Regions from separate parts of the Homo sapiens genome. Here region 1 is linked to region 2. The links are contacts of gene promoters, found by promoter capture Hi-C in blood cells and fetal thymus (Javierre and others, 2016). All regions are on one chromosome and are shown on one strand. The core of a region is centred on a gene start or on the middle of the fragment in contact, and the rest is flanking DNA. Distances in the headings are between cores, read along the strand shown.

Region 1 (5,241 bases), core at 1,421-3,920, 190 kb after region 2:
AACAGGACAGAGGGCAGGGCTCCAGGGGAGGTGGGAGGGATGCATGGGCACCAGGGAGCCCCCGGGAGTGTTCAGTCAGGTGGGAAAGAGTGATGCCAGGTGAGATGCTGGGCAGAGGATCTGGCAGACAGAAGGAAGGATGGGCCTCTGACCATCTGGCAGGGGCGTCTGGGGGGCCAGGCAAGGAGCGGTCAGTCTCAGGCGTGCAGCTGCGGCAGCCATGTGGAACCTGCTGAATGTGGTGGTCAGCAGGAAGAGAGGTTTGGGTTGAGAAGACTTTAGGAAAGTCCCCTGAGGAGTCCCACGTTCCTAGGTTCCCTCAGCAGAGTGGCAGGTGCCTAGGAAGGGGAGGAAGAGTGGGAGGAAGTGGGGAGTGAGGCTGAGCAGGACCCCCTAGGCCAGCACAGTGACAGGCAGGGAGGCTGAGGGCTGGTGGGGTCTCAGACTGTCCTGGGGGCCTGGGGCTGACGTGTGCCCCAGCCAGCTGTCCTCATCCAGTGCTCCCATGTCCCCCAGGCCACAGCTGAGACCGTGTATGACATCCTGTCCCCGGCAGCCCCCGTCTCCCGCTCCCTGCAGGATAAGCGCTCTGCGCGGAGGCTGCGCAGGGGCCAGCAGCCTGCCGACCTGCGGGAGGGTGTGGCCAAGGCCTACGACACAGTGCGAGAGGTGACCAGGCCCCCGCCCTGCCCCAGTCCCCCATGCCCATCTCCTCACACAGACCCCGCCCTGACCTCTGGCTTCCACAGGGCATCTTGGATACAGCTCAGACCATCTGTGACGTGGCATCGCGGGGCCATGAGCAGAAGGGGCTGACGGGCGCCGTGGGGGGCGTGATCCGCCAGCTGCCCCCGACTGTGGTGAAGCCGCTCATCCTGGCCACGGAGGCCACGTCCAGCCTGCTCGGGGGCATGCGCAACCAGATTGTCCCCGACGCCCACAAGGACCACGCCCTCAAGTGGCGCTCGGACAGTGCCCAAGACTGAGCCTGGGGTGCCCGGCACCCAGAGGGTGCTGCCCACCATGCTCCTGAGCCTCCCAAGAGCTGCAGCCCACGGGCCCGGCCCGGCCTGGCCCTTCAGGGGATGGCCACTGTGAAGGACGCCTTCCCAGCCTGCCCGTTGCCAATCTGCTGTGAGAGGGGGGCCTCCCTGCCTTGGGGCCTTAGCCCTGGCTCTGCACTTTTCCTCCGGGGAGAAAGGACACTGCCCCTCCCCCGACCTGGGCCCACACTGCTGCCTTCTCCCAGGACGGAGGCTTTTGGACCCTCGGACCCCATCCCACTCAGCCAAGTGTCTTTCTGTGTCTGGGGGGAGGAGGGGATGATATCCGTGTGGTTCGATGTATTATTTTTAAGCTCCGTGAGTGCGTGGGTCAGTGTCTGCATGAAGTGGAATAAACTGCCCACCGCCAGCCCCCCTCTCAGATCCTCTGTCCCTGTGAACCCTGGCCTCAGCCTTGACCTTGGCCCCGCCCCAGATCCCACCTCTGCACCCAGCACCTCCCATGTCACCACCAGGGGTCGCCATGCCTCCTGGCCTTGCCCAGCAGATCAGGGCACAGGGGGACCCAGAGGCACCCAGCCCTGCACGCCTTCCCCTGGCTCTGGGCTCTGCCTTGCCCCTCCCAGGAGGCTGCCACTCCAGCCCCACTCCTGATGTGGCAGGAGCTACGTGGGGCTGCCAGGGGAGGGAGGGATGGTCCTTGGAGCCCAGCTGACCCTGCCTGGTTGTCACTTGAGGCCACTCGGGGAAGGCTGAGCCTGAGGCATTCTAGATGTTGCTCTCACCATCCCTAGTGGGGGCTTTTGGGGTGGCCCAGGCCTTGGCCCCTTGGTTTCCACTCTGATCTGGGGTCCCAGCTCCAGCACTTGGAGGGGGGAGGGGTGCTGGAGCAGCGCTGCAGCCGGAATCCCAACCCTCACTGCACAAAGCTTTACACAGGACCAGGGAGCGCCCATTGCCCCCCACACATCTTGTTTCTTGTGAGCTGCTCCCATCGCGCTCCTCCCTGCCCTGCTTCCCAGTGGCGCTGCACAGAGGTGGGTGGGTCCATGGGGAAACCAAGGCTCGGGTTGGGAATCAGGGAACCCTCACCTTGCTAGGTTCCGCAGGCCTCTGGGGTTAGCAAAGGTCCCCCAGCCCTGCTCTGTGGCCCCTTCTGAGTGGGGGAGATCTGGGTACTGGGAACAGAGCAGAAGCTTTGTCCCGAGGGACCCTGGGGTCCTGGCTGCCCACGGACAGCTGGGGCAGCAGGCTGGTAAGAGACCAGGAGGGCGAGGCCCTGGAGGAGACAGGGCTGTGGAGACTCGGTGCTGATGCCACCCGGAGAGGCAGATGGGGCCCAGCCTGATGCTTCCTGGACCCGCCCCACCCTGCCCGGGCACAGTCCAGGGCTTCCTGCCCTTCGAACCGCACTTGTGATCAGTATTGACGGTGGTGGGATAATCATTAACCACCACCAGGGGCTGGGTCAACGGCTCAAAAGGCCCTGGGCCCAGGGTGTCCCCACTTCCTCCTTGTGCCCCGAAGGCCAGCCCGGCACTCAGGTAAGAGGCTTCCTGAGTGGTAGGACCCCTGCCGCCCTCCCTGTCCTAGGAGGCTCCTGAACCCAGGCACCTCTCTGAAGGGTGGCCAATCCTGAGGAAGAAAGGGACCTGGACAGCCATGGGGTGGCCGGGACGAGCCCCTTCCTCTCTGTGCCTTGGTTTCCACTGTGGGATAAGGGGGCCTTAGCATCAGCGCTCAGAGCTGTGGAGCCAGGATTCCTGATCGGGCGCTGTCTCTGCCAGGCCAGGGCACTTGGACACCACGCTGCAGGAGGCTGGTCTCGCCCAGGCCTCTGTGGGAAGGGCCGCCAGGCTGAGTGGAGGGCCAGCCACCAGCTACGGTGTCTTCCTTCGCAGGTCTGTCCCCCCAGGCAGAAGGATTCCAGCCCAGGGATCCCCCATCCCACCCTGACTGCATCCTGAGAAGGGGGGACGCCACTTCGGGAAGGTTGTTGGGGCAGCACAGGCCCTGGGGCCCTGCTCTGTGACCTTGGGCGGCCCCCTCTGTCTCTCTAGGCCTGTATGCACCACTGGCAAAGGGGGCAGGGCCCAAGTCTACTCTAAAAGCTCCCCTTTCTCTCCAGAAGCTTTGGAGTCTCCCAAAATGCCTGCTGGGTCTCTGCAGGACTGGCACCTGTCACCGGAACCTGTCTGGGAGGGACGAGAACACGCTTTGCAAGAGGAAGCTCTGCCTCACAGAGCCCTGGGCTCACTCAGGGACCCTGGCCAGCAGCTGCTTCCTCTCCCCACAGCGGAGAGAGACCCAAGGGTCCCAGGGCGGATGCTTCCCACCAGGCCAGCCCAGCGTGCAGGGTGGCCTCGTAAGTCCTGATTGACATATGGACAGTGGTTCAGAGAGGTTACGCTACTTGCTCAAGGTCACCCAGCTCCCAGGCCCCTGCTGTCTTCCAGGCCACTGAGGTCCTAAGCGTCCTTCCAGGCGAGCCACTGCTCACAGCCTGTTCCTCATGTTCTGCGGCAGGTTTGTGTATCTACATCTTTTCCAGTTCCCTGTCGTCCCCCTTCCTACACCTCGTCATCCACTATCCCTGTTTGTTTTCTCTGTTCCTTTCTAGTTCTCTACCTGCTCCTCTTATTTTTATTTGAGACAGGGTCTTTCTTTGTCACTGAGGCTGGAGTGCAGTGGCACAATCCCAGCTCACTGGAGCCTCGACCTCCCAGGCTCAAGTGATCCCCCGCCTCAGCCTCTTGAGTAGCTGGGACCACAGGCATGCATCACCACACCAGGCTAATTTTTTATTTTTTGTAGAGATGGGGTCTCACTGTGTTGCCCAGGCTGGTCTTGCACTCCTGGGCTCAAGAGATCCTCCCACCTTGGTCTCCCAAAGTGCTGGGATGCCAGGTGTGCACCGCCATCCTCGGCCTTACTCTTCTCTTCCTCTCTCAGCCCCTCTGCCTCACTATCCCTCTTTCTGTGCCCTCCCCCACACAGCCCCCCACACTTCTTCTTAGTCTCATCTTCAGCTTCCCATACGAGGCCATCCTCATGAAATCAGGCACTGGGAGGTCCCTGGGGACTGACAAGTGCCAGCTGTCCCTTGCTGTCTCTCTGCCCCATGGCTGCAGCAGGGAGGGTGGGCAAAGGGCAGAGGTGACAGTGGCCAAACCTGAAACTGAGGCCCAGCTCTGGTTGGGAAAGAAACAAGGAAACAAAATAACTTGGGGACAGAGGGCGTGGGGTCATCAGAGCGGGCAAAGGCTGCCCAGGAGTTGTAAATCCGAGCCGCTCCCGGCTTTATGAGGCCGATTTGGGGTTGAGCCTGGACTTTGCCCAGGAAGGAGTGCTGGCAGCACACGGGGCGCCAGGTGTGGGCCCCGGATGATAAGAAGCCTCGGTGAAAAGACCATGGACCTGGGGCCACGAAGACTGGGGAGCCCAGGTGAGTGGGCATGGGACACTCTCCAGAGCCCTGCCGAAGGCGGACGCCAGGCAGGGCCCCGGTCTCCAATTGGTTCCCGCCCCCTGTAACAGCAACTCCATGTGGAAGTGCCCACTGGTTCCAGTGGGGCTGCTGTTATCTGGGGCGAGGGCCAGTACCCACGAAGAAGGAGAGGCAGGTGCTGGCCAGCAGACCAGCCAGGACTACCGTGGCGACGCTCCCAGGCCAGATGGTGGCGGGTAGTGGAGGGCTGTCGGTGGGCTGCCGAGACCGAGTGCACAGGGCTCTGACCTATGAATTGACAGCCAGTGCTCTCGTCTCCCCTCTGGCTGCCAATTCCATAGGTCACAGGTATGTTCGCCTCAATGCCAGCCACCAGGACCTGCAGGGATAGGGGAGGGCCGGGGGTGTCCAGCAGTCAGCAGAGATCCTGCGACCCCAGTGCAGCACTCATGGTCCCACCTCCCTCTGTCTCATTCCCCGTGAATGAGCCTGAACAGCTTCAGTCCTGCCCCTGCCCTGCCTGCCCTGTGGCACCTCTATGCTTTGCCCATGCTGTTCCCTTGGGCTGCAATACTCTTCCTAGCTTATTTGCCAGGCTCACTCTTACTAACCCTTTCAAGCTCTGTCCAAGCATTTGCTGCCTCCAGAAGGCCTTATTGAAGCTTCTAAGTCCCCACCTGGGCACCCCCACACAGTGCTGCCGCAGAGCACTGCCCTCTCGGAGCCCCGGTGCTGGTTTCTGCTTATGTCTCGCTCCTCTCCCCATCTGTGAGCTCAGTTCCCAGCCCA
Region 2 (4,969 bases), core at 142-2,641:
AATTTTTAGGAAAGACAGTGAGGCCTAGAAAGGAAGAATAACTTGCCTGAACTTACACAGCAGGTAAGGAACTTTAACAGGACTAGAATCTGGGCTCTGAGACTCGGGGGACTCACTGTCCTGCTGCTTGAGGAGGGCCTGGAAACCAGTCACCAAGCTGGCCCCTGAGGCTGGCCTGATCCCCCCGAGGTGCCAAGGCCTCACCATAGCAGACAAGGCGGGTCGTCTCTCGGCTGGCCAGGGGTATGTTGCACAGGCGGCAATTGGGGTTGTAGTCGCTATCTTGGAGCCATTGCAGGTAGGACTGGACGATGCACTGGAGTGGGAGAGAGATGTCACAACTGGTGCTGGGGCTGCTCGGCCTATCACCCCAAGGTCCGACTGTCTCTTTTTCTCTAGCCACAGAGGAGACTCATCCTTTCGTTTGTTTAATCAATAAATATTTATTGAGCACATACTGTGCACCAGACTCTCTCTTGGGAACGGGGGATATATCAGTGAACAAAATAAATCAAGTCCTTGCCCTTGTGGGGCTTACATTCTAGCGCGGGGCCCCTCATGGATTTGGAGGAAGCCAATACCGCCTTGCCCACCCAGTGCCCTGCTCAGTCGCTCCCCTGAAGGCCCCACCTTGGCGTGATTGGCTACCAGGCAGTGCTCGCAGACGTTGACCCGATGTTCGAAGCAGAACAGGTTGGTCACCTTTCTCTTGGGGCACTTACAAAGCCCCATGATCGATCCTGGGAAAGGGGCATGAGTTGGTAGGAAGTCAGGTTCTGGTGGCCACCACTACGCTCTCACCAGCCCAGTTTCCACTCTTAACTCCCCCAGACACCTCTCATATTCGCCCCGATCTCAGATTCCTGCCCACTGTCCCTCCTTATGCGGAGAAACACCCCCTGCATAAATCCCGCCTCCGGCGACCCCTCAATCCTTCTGGATCCCGCCCCCGGCCAGGCCCCTCCATCAGAGGCTCCCCGATACTACCGGCCCCGCCCCCAAGACCTCTCCTGAGCCCCACCCCCTCCAAGTCCCGCCCCTTCTCTACAGACCCCAGTCTCTGTGTTTACTGATCGGCCGCTGCACTGGTTCCGAAGGGCGGTAGCGATGGCTCGAGGCGCGGAAGGGCAGGGACCACTCTCCCCAGGGCTCCTGCGCCTCTCCCTTCAGCCCCGGCCGCCCCGATTATCCCTCCGCTGCCACGTCTCTTCCGGGTGCGGCGCGCGCTGATGACGCCATCGCGCCCCTGGGCCACGCCTCCGCTGCCGCTAGAGGTGAAGACGGGTGGAAAAGACTCGGGGTTCCGAGGGCCGCAGACCGCTAGCCCTACGTCACTTCCGCTTCCTTTCCCGCAGGGCGGGTAATTCGAACGTTTTTTGCAGCGAGTGGCCTTCCCGGTTGGCGCGCGCCCGGGGCGGCGGCGCTGGAGGAGCTCGAGACGGAGCCTAAGTTATGTCTGGGAGGCGAACGCGGTCCGGAGGAGCCGCTCAGCGCTCCGGTGAGCGGAGGGCGCGCGGGAGACGTGAGGTCGAGCCGTTTGGGGGACGCAGTCCGGTGAAAGATGGCCTCTTCCCTCCCGCTGCCGCCGCCGGAGGAGGCGCCCTTAAAAGGGCTTGTTTGGGAATCTTCTCGCTGTCTCTAGAACCTGTTCTCTGGACTCTAAGGTCTAGAGTCCTCCTCTACCACTTAACTTTTTTCTCTTTCCAGGGCCAAGGGCCCCATCTCCTACTAAGCCTCTGCGGAGGTCCCAGCGGAAATCAGGCTCTGAACTCCCGAGCATCCTCCCTGAAATCTGGCCGAAGGTGAGCCCCAGATTTCTCACTTCCTCCCCTTGTGGCCCCTCACCTAATGTTGAGCTCACGTTCATCCCTCTTCTCCAGACACCCAGTGCGGCTGCAGTCAGAAAGCCCATCGTCTTAAAGAGGATCGTGGCCCATGCTGTAGAGGTAAAGGCTAAGGAGAGTGTTGTGGGTGGTTAGGCGGGCAAAACTGGGGACCAGCTATGTGATCAATTGGTATTGTCCCCCGCAGGTCCCAGCTGTCCAATCACCTCGCAGGAGCCCTAGGGTGAGTTCACTTTCATCTACTTAATTAAGTAGAATCTGGGTCACTCTAGAGCTGGACAGCACACATTGGCTCCTCACATCTGCCCAGGGAGCTGTTTTGCAGTACTGCAAAAACAGTTTGCCTGTGGGCACCTGCATGCATTGCCAGTCTTGATTACTCCCTGAAGACTTAATACACTTAACTTTTTATGCCTTGTGTATTTCTACCATTTTCCTGGAACTTCCTTTAAAAGCTGAGCTATGTCTTAACTCCACGTACTGCCTTTCTAATCCATTATGCCTTCAGCTTTCATGTATGGGTGTTCTGAGATAAGTCATGTGTATGACATTTTTACAGTTTTAGCAGAAGTTATTATCAAAGGATGTTTCATTAATAGACAATCTGAAGACATACTGACTGAGAAATGTGAACTCCTTTGAAGAGCTGATAGGGCTTAGAGTCAACTGGGGAGAAAGACCAATGACAAGTGATAGCAACGTTGTGTACTGGGACTGCAATAAGGAATACTAGATGCTATGATGGTAGCTAACCCAGACCATGTGGCTCAGGGAATGTTTCGTGGAAGAAGAAACATTTGAACTGAGTCTTTAAAGACAAGTAGAGGCCGGGTGCAGTGGCTCACGCTTGTGATCCTAGCATTTTGGGAGGCTGAGGCGGGCAGATCACTTGTGGTCAAGAGTTTAAGACCAGCCTGGCCAACGTGGTGAAACCCTGTGTCTACTAAAAATACAAAATTAGCCAGGCATGGTGGCACGTGCCTATAGTCCCAGCTACTCAGGAGGCTGAGGCAGGAGAATCGCTTAAACCCAGGAGGCGGAGGTTGCAGTGGGCCGAGATCACGCCCCTGCACTCCAGCCTGGGTGACAAAGCGAGACTCCATCTCAAAAAAAAAAAAAAAAAAAAAGACAAGTAGGTTTGTTCCAGGTCAAAGAAGCCATGTTTGCAGAGATTGGGAATTTAAAGAAAAATCAAGGTTCGGGGAATAGCAATTTGTTTAGTGTCTGCAGCAGACCTCAGCAGGGGAGGAAGCACCCTAAGGCAGAGCAGATCCTGATGAGGCACAAAAGCCACACTCATGGCTTGGGCATCATTCTTGGGTCTGTGGGCAGCCTTTGGAGAGTTCTGGGTAAGGTAGTGACCGAGTCAAGTTTGAGTGTTTTAAGAAAGACCCCTCTGGGGGCTGTGGGGAGAATGGTTTTGAGAAGGGCTACCCTGGGGCTCCAAGACCAGTGGAATGACGTGAAGTCCAGGAATTCTGAAGCATGAAGCCAAGGGCGTGAGCTAAAGCCAGGATGATATACAGTACTGGGTTCAGAGGGAATTGCCCCCCAGTGGCCTTCCCTGACCACCCTTACCCTATTGCTGTCACATTTCTCTATGTAATTCTCTTAGGCCTTACCAGTTCTAAAGATAGGGTCTTGTTCTGCCACCCAGGCTGGAGTGCAGTGGCGAGATTTCGGCTCACTGCAGATCTTCCCTCCTCAGCCTCTCAAGTAGCTGGGACTATAGTCACATGCCACCATGCCTGGCTAATTTTTTGATGTTTTCTCTAATTTTTTTTATAGAGATGAGGGTTCACTATGTTGCCCAGGCCGGTCTTGAACTCCTGGGCTCAAGTGATCCTCCCACCTTGGCCTCCTAAAGTGTTGGGATTACAGGCATGAGCCACTGTGCCTGGTCCTTATCAGTTCTTATAGTGTATTTTCTTGCATGTTTGATGTCTTTCTCTCCCCCCTCTAAGAACACAGGCACCTTGAGGGTAGGGACTTCTGCCTTTCCTAGTAGCCACTCATTCTTGTTGATTGACTGAGATTCATGGTACATCGAGCAGGATAAAGTTGCCAGGACCTGGGTGACTGCTTGGCTATAGAGAATGAGGAAGTCGTAGTCAGCAGTGACCACCAATTTGTTCAGCTTCCCTGTGTTTTTTTTTTTTGAGATGGAGTCTCGCACTGTCACCCAGGCTGGAGTGCAGTGGCGCAATCTCGGCTCACTGCAACCTCCGCCTCCCAGGTTCAACCGATTCTCCTGCCTCAGCCTCCCAAGTAGCTGGGCTTACAGGCACCTGCTACCACACCTGGCTAATTTTTTTTGTATTTTCAGTAGAGATGGGGTTTCACTATGTTGGCCAGGCTGGTCTCAAACTCCTGACCTCAGGTGATCCACCCACCTCAGCCTCCCAAAGTGCTGGGATTATAGGTGTGAACCACCATATCTGGCCACCCATTATCTCTTGAACTTCATCTTCAGTTTCTTCCTCTTGCCTTCACTTCAGCCACACTGGCCTCCTTGTTGTTTGACCCTGACTAGTACACTGTGGCCTCAGGGTTGTTGCACCTTCTGTTCCCACTGCCTAGAACTTGGCCATGAGTCACTCCCACACCTCCTTCAAGTTGTAGCTTGAATGTCACCTCAGTGAGGGATGTATTGACCTTTATCTTTTTGCAATTCTAACCTGCCCCAAGCACTCTCTCCTGTTCTGTTTTCCTGTAGTGCTTGATACTGCTAACATAATACTGAATTTTCTTACCTGTTTTTCTCTTAGAATGGGGCAGGGGTTTTCTCTGTTTTATTCCCTGCTGTGTTCCCAGTGCCTGGCACAGGACAGGTGACTGATAAATACTTATGGACTGAGTGGACATTTAGGACAATCCTCATCAGCTGTGTGGCAGATGGACCACAGCAGGCAAGGGTGGAAACAGGGAGAGAAATCAGAAGGTCGCTGGGACCAGCCTGGGCAACAAAGGGAGACCTCCCCTACTCTACAAAGAAACTAAAAAAAAATCAGCCAGACAGAGTGTCACATGCCTGTAGTCCCGGCTACTCAGAGGCTGAGGTAGGAGGATTGCGTGAGCCCTGGAGGCTGAGGCTTCAGTGAGCCATGATCGTGCCACTGCACTCC

The links. The method cuts DNA at HindIII sites, captures the fragments that hold promoters and counts their contacts. A CHiCAGO score of 5 or more calls a contact.
Region 1: a contact is called between a fragment that was not itself captured here and the fragment with the promoter of CDCA5 in region 2, in 1 of 17 cell types (endothelial precursors). The highest score is 5.1, in endothelial precursors.

The regions. Positions count from the first base shown.
Region 1 is chr11:64,890,718-64,895,958 of GRCh38, reverse strand. It overlaps MIR194-2HG (MIR194-2 host gene), which reads left to right and starts at 2,510. Exons shown (of 3, transcript NR_133640.1): 1 at 2,510-2,548; 2 at 3,133-3,369. It overlaps ATG2A (autophagy related 2A), which reads left to right. Exons shown (of 41, transcript NM_015104.3): 40 at 517-669; 41 at 750-1,413. The coding sequence ends at 986. MIR192 (microRNA 192) reads left to right here and starts at 4,713; the gene lies at 4,713-4,822. It overlaps MIR194-2 (microRNA 194-2), which reads left to right and starts at 4,520; the gene lies at 4,520-4,604. The HindIII fragment of the contact is 935 bases long and covers 2,203-3,137 here.
Region 2 is chr11:65,080,462-65,085,430 of GRCh38, reverse strand. It overlaps CDCA5 (cell division cycle associated 5), which reads left to right and starts at 1,391. Exons shown (of 6, transcript NM_080668.4): 1 at 1,391-1,498; 2 at 1,708-1,802; 3 at 1,881-1,946; 4 at 2,032-2,067. The coding sequence starts at 1,453. It overlaps ZFPL1 (zinc finger protein like 1), which reads right to left and starts at 1,209. Exons shown (of 8, transcript NM_006782.4): 1 at 1,053-1,209; 2 at 631-740; 3 at 205-316. The coding sequence starts at 732. RefSeq lists enhancers at 1-490, 1,080-1,349, 1,430-1,659. The HindIII fragment of the contact is 9,431 bases long and covers 1-4,969 here.